3 separate regions of the Homo sapiens genome follow, and regions 1 and 3 are each linked to region 2. Evidence: promoter capture Hi-C in human tissues and cell types (Jung and others, 2019). All regions are on one chromosome and are shown on one strand. The core of a region is centred on a gene start or on the middle of the fragment in contact, and the rest is flanking DNA. Distances in the headings are between cores, read along the strand shown. Region 1 overlaps RNF214 (ring finger protein 214). Region 2 holds the start of FXYD2 (FXYD domain containing ion transport regulator 2). Region 3 holds the start of UBE4A (ubiquitination factor E4A).

The links. The method cuts DNA at HindIII sites, captures the fragments that hold promoters and counts their contacts. A contact is called where the count stands out against the background at its distance.
Region 1: a contact is called between a fragment that was not itself captured here and the fragment with the promoter of FXYD2 in region 2, in 1 of the 25 tissues and cell types used here (dorsolateral prefrontal cortex).
Region 3: a contact is called between the fragment with the promoter of UBE4A here and the fragment with the promoter of FXYD2 in region 2, in 1 of the 25 tissues and cell types used here (psoas muscle).

What each region holds. Positions count from the first base shown.
Region 1 is chr11:117,245,140-117,249,649 of GRCh38, reverse strand. It overlaps RNF214 (ring finger protein 214), which reads right to left. Exons shown (of 15, transcript NM_207343.4): 6 at 2,702-2,841. Among named protein-coding and RNA genes, the nearest start is that of RNF214, 15 kb to the right of the region's middle. The HindIII fragment of the contact is 8,572 bases long and covers 1-4,510 here.
Region 2 is chr11:117,823,342-117,827,753 of GRCh38, reverse strand. FXYD2 (FXYD domain containing ion transport regulator 2) reads left to right here and starts at 3,010. Exons shown (of 6, transcript NM_001680.5): 1 at 3,010-3,100. The coding sequence starts at 3,076. The region is part of intron 6 of FXYD6-FXYD2 (FXYD6-FXYD2 readthrough); the gene reads left to right. RefSeq lists enhancers at 2,164-2,716, 2,717-3,270. The HindIII fragment of the contact is 16,763 bases long and covers 1-4,412 here.
Region 3 is chr11:118,356,813-118,360,867 of GRCh38, reverse strand. It overlaps UBE4A (ubiquitination factor E4A), which reads right to left and starts at 1,268. Exons shown (of 20, transcript NM_001204077.2): 1 at 1,194-1,268. RefSeq lists an enhancer at 1,262-1,331. The HindIII fragment of the contact is 8,022 bases long and covers 1-4,055 here.

The DNA of each region.
Region 1 (4,510 bases), core at 1,168-3,667, 580 kb after region 2:
GAACTGTAAAATATTCTGCTGTTTAAGCCACGTAGTCAGTGGTATTCTGTTATGGCAGGCCAAGGTGAATAATATAATGACCAAAATCTATGTGTCCCGGTTCCTATGAATGATGGAATGCTAAGCAGAACCTACACCACTGCTAGAACAAAGATACCTACAAGAGACATTCCCCCTGCTTCCGGAAAACTGAACCCCACATTTAACAGAAAGAATGGCAGAAAACATTATTCTCACACCGTGACATATACATTTAAAGAAAAAAAATGGATCTTCAAGAACACAAACACCAAAATTATTAGTATCAATCACCATCTGTAGCAATTCAATCAGATGGAAAAGGTAGTAGAGTTACATAAAGAATGTAAAGAGTAAAAGTGAGTTTGTTGAAGGTAAAAAACAATAAAAATTAAAAATTAAAAAAAGGCTGGGCACGGTAGCTCACACCTGTAATCCCAGCACTTTGGGAGGCCAAGGCAGGTGGATCGCTTGAAGCCAGAAGTTTGAGATTAGCCTGGTCAACGAGTGAGATTCTCATCTCTATAAAAAAATTTAAAAAATTATCTGGGCATGATGGCACTCGCCTGTAATCCCAGATACTCAGGTGACTGAGGCAAAAGAATCACTTGAACCCGGGAGGTGGAGCTTGCATGAGCCGAGATTGCGCCACTGCACTCCAGCCTGGGCAACAGAGCAAGACTGTCTCAAAAAAAAAAAGAATGTAAAGAACACACATCAAAAGGAAATTTTCTGCGGGGCTTAGAATAACATTATAGACTCATCTTCCCAGTTTCTGCACTTTAATATCTCCTGTTAAGTTGCTACATGCCTATGGTCATCTTCCTCACACAGATTGTGAAGACAATGGCAGAGACCATGTCATGGGGTGGGAGCAACTGCTTTGATCACTAACAGTGGCTGGGATAATGTTCTATTCCAGGTACACTCCTCATAATTTCTGGAAAATTATCATTATAGACAACTGACCCACCTTCTAATCATTCAGTATCACTAGATTCTCAACAGAACAACTGATTGGTCTACAAGCCCTCTCTCAAACACAATTCCTCATGTTGAGCTTCACAATTATTATCTTGGAGACTCAGAAAATGATTCAGCACATGAGCTTGCTAACTCAGCAGTCTGACGCATTAGCAAAAGCCAAAATTTTTTTGATAAACAAAAAACATTTTGGTAGAATTTAAATAAAATCAACCGAGTATTCACAGCTATTATGATTTCCAAACAGGTCATTTTAAGAAACTTAGAAAATTGGCTGGGCGCGGTGGCTCATGCCTGTAATCCCAGCACTTTGGGAGGCCGAGGCAGGCGGATCATGAGGTCAGGAGATCGAGACCATCCTGGCTAACACGGTGAAACCCCGTCTCTCCTAAAAATACAAAAATGTTAGCCAGGCATGGTGGCGGGCGCCTGTAGTCCCAGCTACTCAGGAGGCTGAGGCAGGAGAATGGCGTGAACCCGGGAGGTGGAGCTTGCAGTGAGCTGAGATCGTGCCACTGCACTCCAGCCTGGGGAACAGAGCAAGACTCCGTCTCAAAAAAAGAAAAAAAAGAAACTTAGAAAATTGAGAAGCTGACCAAATTCTATGCCCACTTTGCTTTTTCTGCAGTACCCAGAAAAGGACACAAATCCTCTAAATAATTCTTTCACAAACAGCTTACAATGTTACTGTTTGAAATTTACTTTGGATGCTGAATAACACAAATGTAATCATTCAAAATATGCTCATGGTCTGAACTTTGTTTTTTTTTGTTTTGTTTTTTTTTTTTTTTGAGACAGGGTCTCACTCTGTTGCCAGGCTGAAGTCCAGTGGCACGATCTCAGCTCACTGCAACCTCCGCCTCCTGCCTCCTGGATTCAAGCGATTCCCCTGCCTCAGCTTCCCGAGTAGCTGAGACTACAGGTGCACGCCGCCACGCCTGGCTAATTTTGTGTATTTTAGTAGAGATGGGGTTTCACCATATTGGCCAGGATGGTCTCGATCTCCTGACCTCGTGATCCACCTGCCTCGGCCTCCCAAGGTGCTGGGATTACAGGCGTGAGCCACTGTGCCTGTCCCATGGTCTGAACTTGTAAATATCAGGTTATAAAGTGAGATCGGTGTTAGATTCATATAAAAAAAATTTTTTTTTAAGAGACAAGGTCTTGCTCTGTCACCCAAGCTGGAGTGCAGTGGCGTAATCACAGCTGACTGCAGCCTGGAACTCCTGGGCTCAAGTGATTCTTCCACCTCAGCCTCCCAAGTAGCTAGGACTACAGCCACGTGCCACCACAACCAGCTAATTTTTTTTTAATATTTTTTGTAGAGAGGGGGTCTTGCTAGGTTGCTCAGGCTGGTCTCAAACTCCTGGCCTCAAGCAATCTTCCCACCTTGGTGTCCCAAAGCGCTGGGATTATAGGTGTGAGCCGCTACGTCCAGCCCGTATCGAACTCTTGACCACACTTGGGACTCAACAATTAACTGTTATTATTTCAAAGTATTTAATAAATCTCTGAACTTTTTTCTATTAAGTCTAATGTTTGATACTGAAAAAGCTAAAGTCATTGGAGAGTTTTTACTTGTACACTTGTTTTTCAAATAAAAATTAAACCGAAGGGAAAGAAACTACAAATACAAACGGGTCTGGCCCCTCATGCATATATACATACACACAGGGTTTTTATTCTTAACATCAGTTACCTTCTGCCCTTCTCACAAAGCTTCTCAATTTCAGCTTTCAGATCCTGCTCCTTCTGCAAAAACTCCTTCTTCTCTTTCTCTATCTTCTTCTTTGTTTCTTCCCGCTTTATTGTCACATCCTGAATAGCCTTTAATATCTCCTGAGTTCCACACAATTACAGTCGCACACAAATAAAAAAGAAAATAAGTTAGTTCTTTTGATGCAAAGGTTATTTTCAACTATCACAAATTCACGTATTGACTTTAGTGAATTCAAATTGAATTGAAAGAATGTGGTTGATGAGTAGCTCCAAAAGCCAGTATTCAGACCTAAAGGAGAAAGTTATAGTAATGCAGATTTCAACTCAACAGGAAAAATAATTTCTAGCAATCGCAATTGTTCAAAAATGAAATATACTGCCTTGTGAAGCAGTAAGCTCTTCATTACTGGTGTTCAAATAAAGGCTGAATGAACACCTGTCAAGAATGCTGAGAAAGGTGTTCTTGTACCAGGGAGGGTCTGTTACATCCAACAAATATTGTCTTGTTTCATTTTGTTGTGATTCTACTTTATTATGTATGGGTTTTGTTTGTTTTACTCTTTAACAACAACAAATACATACATATATACACACACACATATACACACAGATATACATATGTACAAACGCACACTTTTTTTTTTTTTTAAATAAGAAGTCAAACAGGCCAGGCACAGTAGCTCATGCCTATAATCCTTGTACTTTGGGAACCCAAGGCAGGAGGATCACTGTGTCCGGGAGTTCGAGTCCAGCCTAGGCAACATACAGAGATCTTGTCTCACAAAAAATAAAAAAAATTAGCCAGGTGTGGTGGCACATGCCTGTAGTCCAGATACTCGAGAGGCTGAGGTGGAAGGATAGCTCGAGCCCAGAAAGTCAAAGATACGGTGAGCCTTGATTGTACCCACTACACTCCAGTCTGGGCAACAAAACAAGATCCAGTATCAAAAAAAAAGTAAAATAATACAAAGGTGATAAAGAGTCACTCCCCCACTTCATACCACTTCCACCCATAAGAGTAATCAATGTGTTAACTGCTTTGTATTATGCTTTCACATCTTTCTCTATGCTCACACAAAGACATGTATACTTAGGTATGCATTTCTTTGTTGTTGTTGTTGTTGTTATTTTTAAATGGGGTCATTTTACATACATTATTTTGCATTCTGATTTCTTTTACTTGACATGAATGTATTGTCAATAAGTATCGATCTAATTCAAAAATAGCTGCATAACATATGGATGTATCTAATTTATCCGAACATTCTTTATTAAAAGTCTATGAGTGGTCTGGCGCAGTGGCTCACGCCTGTAATCCCAGCACTTTGGGGGGCCGAGGCAGGTGGATCATGAGGTCAGGAGATCGAGACCATCCTGGCTAACATGGTGAAACCCCGTCTCTATTAAAAAAAATACAAAAAATTAGCCGGGCGTAGTGGCGGGCGCCTGTAGTCCCAGCTACTTGGGAGGCTGAGGCAGGAGAATGGCGTGAATCCAGGAGGCGGAGCTTGCAGTGAGCCGAGATTGTGCCATTGCACTCCAGCCTGGGTGACAGAGCGAGACTCCGTCTCAAAAAAAAAAAAAAGTCTATGAGTATTAATACTTTTTTTGAGACAGGGTATCGTTCTGTCACTCAGGCTGGAGTGCAGTGGCACAATTTCGGCTCACTGCAACCTCTGCCTCCTGGGTTTAAGCGATCCTCCCACCTCAGCCTCCCATGTAGCTGGGACCACAGGTGCACACCACCACGCCCGGCTCATTTTTTGTATTTTTGGTAAAGATGGGATTT
Region 2 (4,412 bases), core at 1,761-4,260:
TCTGTCCATCCGTCCCTTAGAGATGCAGGAACTCAGAAGCCAGGCTGCTGGCTTGAAATCTTGGTTCCCCTACCCTCTGGCCATCTGACCTCTGGCAAGTTATTTAACTTATCTGGGCCTCAGTTTCTTCCTCTATGAAATGGGGTGATAATAATGCCTTCTTTACCTTCTAAAACTCATTGTGATGACTAAAGAATTAATTTCTGGCCAGGCATGGTGGCTCACGCCTGTAATTCCAGCACTTTGGGAGGCCAAGGCGGGCGGATTATCTGAGGTCAGGAGTTCGAGACCAGCCTGACCAACATGGTGAAACCCCGTCTCTACTAAAAATACAAAACTAGCCAGGCTTGGTGGCACATGCCTTTAATCCCAGCTACTCAGGAGGCTGAGACAGGAGAGTCACTTGAACCCGGGAGGCGGAGGTTGCAGTGAGTCGAGATCGCACCATTGCACTCCAGCCTGGGTGACAAGAGCGAAACTCCGTCTTAAAAAAAAGAATTAATTTCTGTAAAGTGCTTGAAACGGTGCCTTGCACACAGAGTTTAAAAATGTAGCCATCAACTAGCTTTCCCTATTGCTTCCTATTCATCTATCTATTGATCGATCTATCATCCATATCTATCTATCTATCTATCTATCTATCTATCTATCTATCTATCTATCTATCTCTCTATTTATCTATCTATCCATCCATCTGTTGGTGCCTCCCCATGCACCTCCTCCCCCCCGCAGTGGGAGCCCTTCCATCCACACTGCAGCTTTGTTTGTGACCAGGGTAAATATTACCTGGCACTGTTAATGTTTAATGCCCCCACCTCATCCCCAGCCACCCCACCAAGGAGCAAAGACAGCAGGAAGAGGCAAGTGGAGACAGTCCATTTGGGTGGGGAAATGACTGGGTTGTCAATGGATAGATAGATAGATAGACAGATAGATAGATAGATAGATAGATAGATAGATAGATAGATAGATAGACAGACAGACAGACAGACAGACAGATGAATTTATTTAACTTCCCACTTATTTTTACATCTCTTATTATTCCCGAAAGACTCCATGGAGGCTTACAAATACAGACCAAATGCAATAAGATAACACAATCCTGTATAATAAAGGGAGCACCCTTGTCTTGTGTGGAGATGGCAGTAGCTTTGGTAGCACATCTTGGAGGATCTGGGCTTTCTACCTCCAGTTTGCCATTAACTGTGTGTTTCAGGCAAGTCCCTTCACCTTCCTGCCCTCGTTTTTTCTGGTGTACCCAGTGCCCTGGCCACGTCCAGGGGCTATTGTGGAAAGCAAATGAGCAGCCTCAAGTTTCTTTATCTGTAAAACGCCATTAGTAGGAATTAAGTGATGCAGTGCATTCCAAGAGCCTGGCACGTGGTCCATCTTCACCAAACGCTGGCTCTGCTGTGATGTTTGCACGAATATATATTTCTTGGCTCCAGAAGCAGAAGGGAGCTGAACGGGTATTGCAGCGCCTGATCTGCAGGGCCATGCCATTCTCTCCGTCTCACTCATTCGTGCCCATTTTCATTGGAGGGTGGCTGGCTTTTCCATGTCCAACAGCAAACATTTGCCAAAGGCTAATGCTTGTCATTTCTTCAATCAACACACATATAACAGTAAAAATGATGCCACTCACCGTGTGCCAGGCCCTGGGATATGCTCTTTGCATGCATTATCTCACTTCCCCTCACCACCACCCTAGGAGCTGGGTACTGCGCCCATTTTACAGATGAGGAGACTGAGGCACAGAGAGGTGAAGTCATTGACTGAGACCACACCATTAGCAAGTGAGAGGGCCAGGGTGTGAACTCAAGTGCCAAGCCCTGCCCCTGCTTGGGGAGGATTCATGGATACAGTGGCTCCCTTCAGAAGGGCTCAAGCTCCCCTGCTGTCCGCTGGCCACTGACCTTGGCTGTTTTGTGGCCATTGGGCTTCAGCCTTTTCTGGAGGCCAATTCAATGGACTAGAACTCAACGAGGATTCTACAGTACCTGTGACTACCCGGCACAGGAGTCCTGGGGCGAAGGAGGTCACAGCGGAGTGGGGAGGCTGCCTGCGAGGTGTGGAAAGCATCTGCCTCCTGCAGCAGGAGGCCTGATTGTCAGTCTCCACTTCCCCCACACTGGCTGTGTGACCCTGGGCAAGGCCCCTACCTCTCTGTGCCTTAGACACCTGCCTCATCAGTAAAATGGGAAACATAAAGCTTGAGGAGAAAAAACAGTGAGGAAAGTGCTTGGTAAACCATAAACGCAGGGGGTTTTCCCCACGATGAAAGTCTTGCCCTGTCCTTAAGGATCCTGCATGCTCCATGGTAAACTGGCAAGGACACAATCCGAGAGCCAGGCCAAATGGTGGTAGGAGGAAGTGCCAGGGCGGCAGGGAAGGAGAAATTAGTTGGGGATGACTGAAGCCCTTCTGAATGAGGTGTAACCTGCAGGGTGCACGTTGATGGGTGAATAGGATGACAGATGAAGGGCCCTTCTGGAGGATCTACTGCTGGTCAGCTTTGGCGGTGCTCCAGGGATGTGGTGGGGGAGCAGTGGGCCAGGCTCCTAGGGACCACTGCAGGAAAGCCTCCAGTACCACATAAGGAACACCAGCTGCAGCGGCGGCATCCATGGTGGCTGGTGCGGTGGGCCCTGCCTGGGCTGGGGGCCACTGTGGGCCACTGCCCCCAGAAACTCCCAAGTACAGTGTACACTGAAGAGATTGTGCAACTTCCACTTTCCTGTTCCCACCGCCCCAGCTGTAGCTTCCCCAGCTGGCAGAACAGCACGACTGCTGACCCATCCCAACCCTTCTCTTTGGAAATTTCCTTTGGGAAGGTTTGGAAACTCAGCCAGCTCCTCCCTGCCCCTGCCTCCCCACGCACGTCCTCACCCTGCAGAAGGAGCCCCTCCATCCACACTGCAGCTTTTCTTGTGACCAGGGTAAATATTACCTGGCACTGTTAATGTTTAATGCCCGCACCTCGTCCCCGGCCACCCCGTGGAGGCAGCCAGACACTCTCCAAAAAGCAGAGACAGCAGGAAGAGGGGAGTGGAGGCAGCCCATTCACCTGGGGAAATGACTGGGTTGTCGATGGACGGTGGTGAGTGTGCTGGTGTGCGTGCCCGGGCGTGTGCAATGCTGGGTGGCTCTGATTGGCCTGCCTTTGTGGGGTCAGCTGGACCCTACTCTTCCCTCTCCTGCCACCTCAGCCTTCCAGAGTACCCAGCCCCTCTTCCTGTCGGCCTCCTCTCTAAGAAAATTTGCAACTTAAAGGAGGACCCTGCTTTAACCCCAAAGAAAGATAGCTTGAGTGGCAGAAAGGCAGCAGATAGAAGCTGGAGAGCTGAGCGTTCCTCCTCGGCCTCCTGGCACACACCCGCCCTGAGTTCAATGCATCTTGCTAGACCGTCTGAACTTGGGCGGGAGGCAGACGGCGTCCATCTGGCTGGGGAAGGAGCAGGCCCCTCTGGTCAGCCTTCCTAGGCTGGATTTGGGGTGAGAGCCCGCCAAGTTCAAGTCACACTCTCCAAAGGCTTCCTGTCACAGGAACTGACTCAGGCCTGGAAACCAAGAGGGGCACTTGCTGACAGAGGTGGGTTTTGAGCCAGATGCAGAAAGGGGAGGGTGCTGGGCAGGGAGGGTCTCAGCAAGCGGCTCAGGGCCAGGTGGCCACGGAGGAGGAGGTTTCCTGGGGCGTGTGGGGAAGCCTCAGCTGGCGTCTAGCTGTTGCTCTGACACTTAAATCCCCATATGACCTTAAACAAGGCCTGAACCAAATCTGGGAAGACAGCCCTGACGGCCTTCTGTGTGGGACCTGGGTCCTTCATGGCCTCCCTGAGCACCCAGCACCTCAGGCCCGTCAGGATGGGCACTGACTCTTCCTGGCCTGTCCTTTCCTGGCCCAGGGACTGGCCGCTGGGGACAGCTGGGCTTGACAGACCCTAAGTCTCACTGCTGCTCAGGGGCACAGTTTGGCACAGCCCGGAAAGTGCTAACTTGCGCGTTCCTTCCTCCTCGGGCTCCACTTCCCTCGTGCGAGAAGGGGCTCCGGCAGGGCAGGAAAGAGTAGCGGCCCTTAGCTGTGGCAGAAGCGTCCTGGCCAGGCCACCGTCTGGCTGTCCGGGGCAAGTGTACTCAGTTGCAGGGCACCACTGTGAGACCTGCCTGCTGAGCGGCTCCAAATCCGGGGGAGGCCACCAGAGGCAGGGGCAGGACCTTACCTCTAACGGGCTCCTTCCCTCCCGCCATTGAGAGGTGGCAGATCAAAGGGCTTATGCACCTCCATTCTCAGCCCCCTGCTTCCTGGGTTCAAACACCAGCTCTACCCCTGACTTGCTGTATAACTGTGGGGGAATTTCTTCTCTGCACTTCCACCCTCTTGTGGATTACACCAGAATGACATTGACGCCTCA
Region 3 (4,055 bases), core at 19-2,518, 530 kb before region 2:
GGATTTGATTCTTTTAAAATATATCCTCCTTGAAAACAAGTTTCACTCTGATACACTTGCTGCAAAGATCTATATCTATAATAGCTGTCCTACAAAATTCTGTCACTTCCTCCTAATACAAGCTTTTGTTTATGAATAGTACCACTAATCCTTTAAGACCACTGTCAGCTCTCATGAACACACAAGTGTGTTAACATCAGACTTGGTATTGTTTTTCAACAGAAATATCTGGAACACTTTGTAAAACTGGGATCGTCAAAATCAAGCTCTATCAAATCATACTCCCATAAGGTCTGTGTCCTGGCAAATAATACATATATCAATATAAAATAGAAATTAAAATATCAATTTAAAATAGAAATTAAGAAACAATTTTCGTTGTCGTATGTTTCACCTAACACTATCAGGCCATGCTAATGTGGCAACAAATTCCATCAACACATCTATCTGCAGCCTAGAAGGATCTCAAGTCAAAAAGCAGACAGCAGTCCTTCTTGGATCCCATTTTATCGCAGGTGGGCTTCCACGTGAGACCAAAACAGTAAATGACAGCGAGACTAAACACATGCTTGCTGTCAGGGCATAAAACTGATCCTAAAAGGAAGGCTCATCAAATATAAGGTCATGAGGCATGGTCACTCAATTTTAGAAGTGTCTTCTAAACCCAAGGAAACATGAAGCAGAGTGCCCCAAGAGTTATCTGTGGTGAACTCATCACCTGCCTTAAGAATTATCAACACCCTGACGTATGCATTGAACTGGTTTGCTTACGACTCACGATTAATCTTATCTTCTTGGCATCTGCCTATTTGTTATCTACTCTTTATATTTTATCCTTCCATGCTCCATAAGGGATTCGCGGGAAGGAGGGAGATCCACCCGCCCGGGGCACGTTCTAGAGAAAGTTAAGTCAAAAGATAATGCAATGATAGCGCTCCGGCCTCTTCCAGGAGGGGCTTGGCAAAGATGGGGACAGAAATGTACAAAGAGACATCAGAAGCTGGGGCACTGTAAGGGGTTCCAAATCAGACAGGGTCGAAGTTCAAGAAGGAGAAGGTCCCTGGTTAGCAAAGCATAGGAGAAGGAATTTGGAGAAGATAAGAGTGAACAGGCTTGAAGTGGCATTGGACCAGCAGAAAATATCACAACGCAAAGTCAACGACCCCGTCCCCTGAAGCTATTGCCTGTCTTACCAGAGCCTGAAGTGCCAGCAGCGACGACACGACAGAATCTCAGCGGCCGAAGGGTTCCCACTTCCGACTCAGCACAGCAACCGGAAGTTACGTCATCAACAAGCGCCGGGGCATGTGGAAGTTCATCTCCGCGCCGGAAGCACGGTGTGCAGGCTCACCGGGGGGAACGGCGCGCAAATAGTCCTACAGCGCATGCGCTAGCTTGTTAGGGGCGGGCTGGAGGCGGGCAGGAAGTGGCAAGAAGTGGCCTTGGCATCGGATTGTGGGGGCTGGAGTTGGCCCACCTGGCAGTGCGCTTTGGAGTATAGAATATGAGGCTGGGTTTTGGAAATCAGCGTACCGAGGGCAGATAAAACTCTGTGATCCCTGGCTCTGCTCGCAACCTCTGTTGGGGGTCTGCTCTCTTATTTTCCCACCAGTCCTAGACCTTTTTGAAGCAGCTTCTGTTACTCTCTATTATTCAAAGGGATAACACTAACAGCAATAACAACTACAAGTTTGTTATTGTTGTGCTGTCTTTGGAGCAATCTTTGGAGTGTGCTATCTTTGATTGGATTTCAGTTTTCTTATCTGTAAAGTGGAGACAGTATACATCCTACAAGGTTGTTTTGAGATACACATAGATGGCCAGGCACAGTGGCTCACGCCTTGTAGTCCCAGCACTTTGGGAGGCTGAGACGGGCGGGTCACGAGGGCAAGAGATCGGGATACACATAAATAATAGAAGCAGCATAATTTTCAAGAGTTAAAAGCGCTGTGCAAGTGAAAATTCACAGATTGAGAGAAAATAGTTGCAACTCATATATCTGATAAAGGATTCATCTCTAGAATATGTAAAGAACTACAAGAACGAAAAACCCCCAAACAGTTCAGTTCAAAAAAGGGCAAAGGACTTGAATAGACATTTCTCCAAAGAAGATACATTCCAAGAGAATGACTATCCACTTGGTATCTGTGGGGGATTTGTTTCAGGACCCCCTTGGGTACCAAAATCCAAGGATGCTCAAGTTCCTTACATAAAATGATGCAGTATTTGCATATAACCTATGCACATCCTCCTGTGTCATCCTAGAGATGACTAAGTCATCTCTAGATCACTTATAATACCTAATACAACATAAATCTAAATAGTGTTGTATTGTTTAGGGAATAATGACAAAAAGTCTGTACATGTTCAATACAGATGAAATTTGTTTTGGAATATTTCCAATTCATGGTTGGTTGAAGCCACAGATGCAGAGCCCACAGATATGGAAGGCCAACTGTACAAATGGTGGATAAGCATATGAAAGAGTGCTCAACACCACTAGTCTTTAGGGAAATGAAAAAAAAAATCATGAGATACCACTTAATACCTACTAGGATGGCTACTATAAAAAAAAAGGAAAGTAATTGTTGGCAGATGTGGAGAAATTGAAACCGTATGCGTTGCTGATGGCAATGTTAAATAGTCCAGACTTTTTGGAAAAACAGTTTGATGATTCCTCAAAAAGTTAAACATAGTATAACCACATGATCAAGCAATTCCGCTTTGATATAGATGTTCAAAATAACTGAAAGCAGGAACTCAGATACTTGTATACATATATTTACAGTAGCACTATTCATAATAACCAAAAGGTAGAAATAACCCAGAATGTTCATTAACAGATGAATGCATAAACAAAATATGGTATATAGCTACAGATGACTTATTCAGCCTTGAAAAAGAATGAAGTTCTGATACACGCTGAAACATTGATGAACCTTGAAAACGTTATGCTAACTGAAACGAGCCAGACAGAAAGGACTAAATAGTGTATGATTCAGTTTATATGTGGTACACAGAATAGGCACATTCCTTGAGAGAGAAAGTATAATAGAGGTCACCAGGGATTGGAGGGAGAGGCGAATGGGAGTTATTGTCTAATGGGTACCAAGTTTCTGTTTAGGAGGATGAAAAATTTCTGAAATGGGTAGTGATGATGGCTACACATTGTGGATATATTTAATGCCATTGAATGGTACACTTAAAAATAGTTAAAATGGGGTTGGGTGCAGTGGCTCATGCCTGTAATTCCAGCACTATGGGAAGCCGAGGTGGACAGATCACTTGAAGTCAGGAGTTCAAGACCAGCCTGGTCAACATGGTGAAACCCTGTCTCTACTAAGAATACAAAAATTAGCTGATCATGTGGATGTGCGCCTGTAATCTCAGCTACTTGGGAGGCTGAGGCAGGAGAATCGCTTGAACTTGGGAGGCAGAGGTTGCAGTGAGCCGAGATCGTGCCACTGCGCTAGAGTGCCTGGATGACAGAGTGAGACTCTGTCTCAAAAAAAAAAAAAAAAAAGGTTAAAATGGTAAATTTTAGGTTACATATCTTTTACCACACACACACAAAAAGCCCTGGGCAATCTTTGTGTGCCTACCACTGTTCTAGTTCCTAAGGATACCATAGTGAAAAAACGTAAGTGTTTTCCTTCTTGGAGCTTATAATCTGGCGAGTGGGGTTGTAACAGCATTTAAAATTAATGGACGCAAAATGAATCATTCAATAATATTTCTGGAATAGCTGGGTAACTATCTGTATTTAAAGTTGGTTACTACATTAGATCTGATGCTAAAATCAATTCGAGATGGGTCAAAGATATAAATGCATAAAATAAAACCATAAAAATGCTAGAGGAATTCATGGGGGAACTTTTAAAAAAGGATAATTTTAAAATGGAGAAAGACTTTCTAAATATGAAACGTAACCTAGAGACCATAGGAGACCAGTGAATTATACTACATGCAAATAATTGTAAAGTGTGCGTGAAAAACTAACCAATGTGTTTTTTAAAGCAAAGTTAAAAAACACATAAAGTTGGAAAAAGACTTGC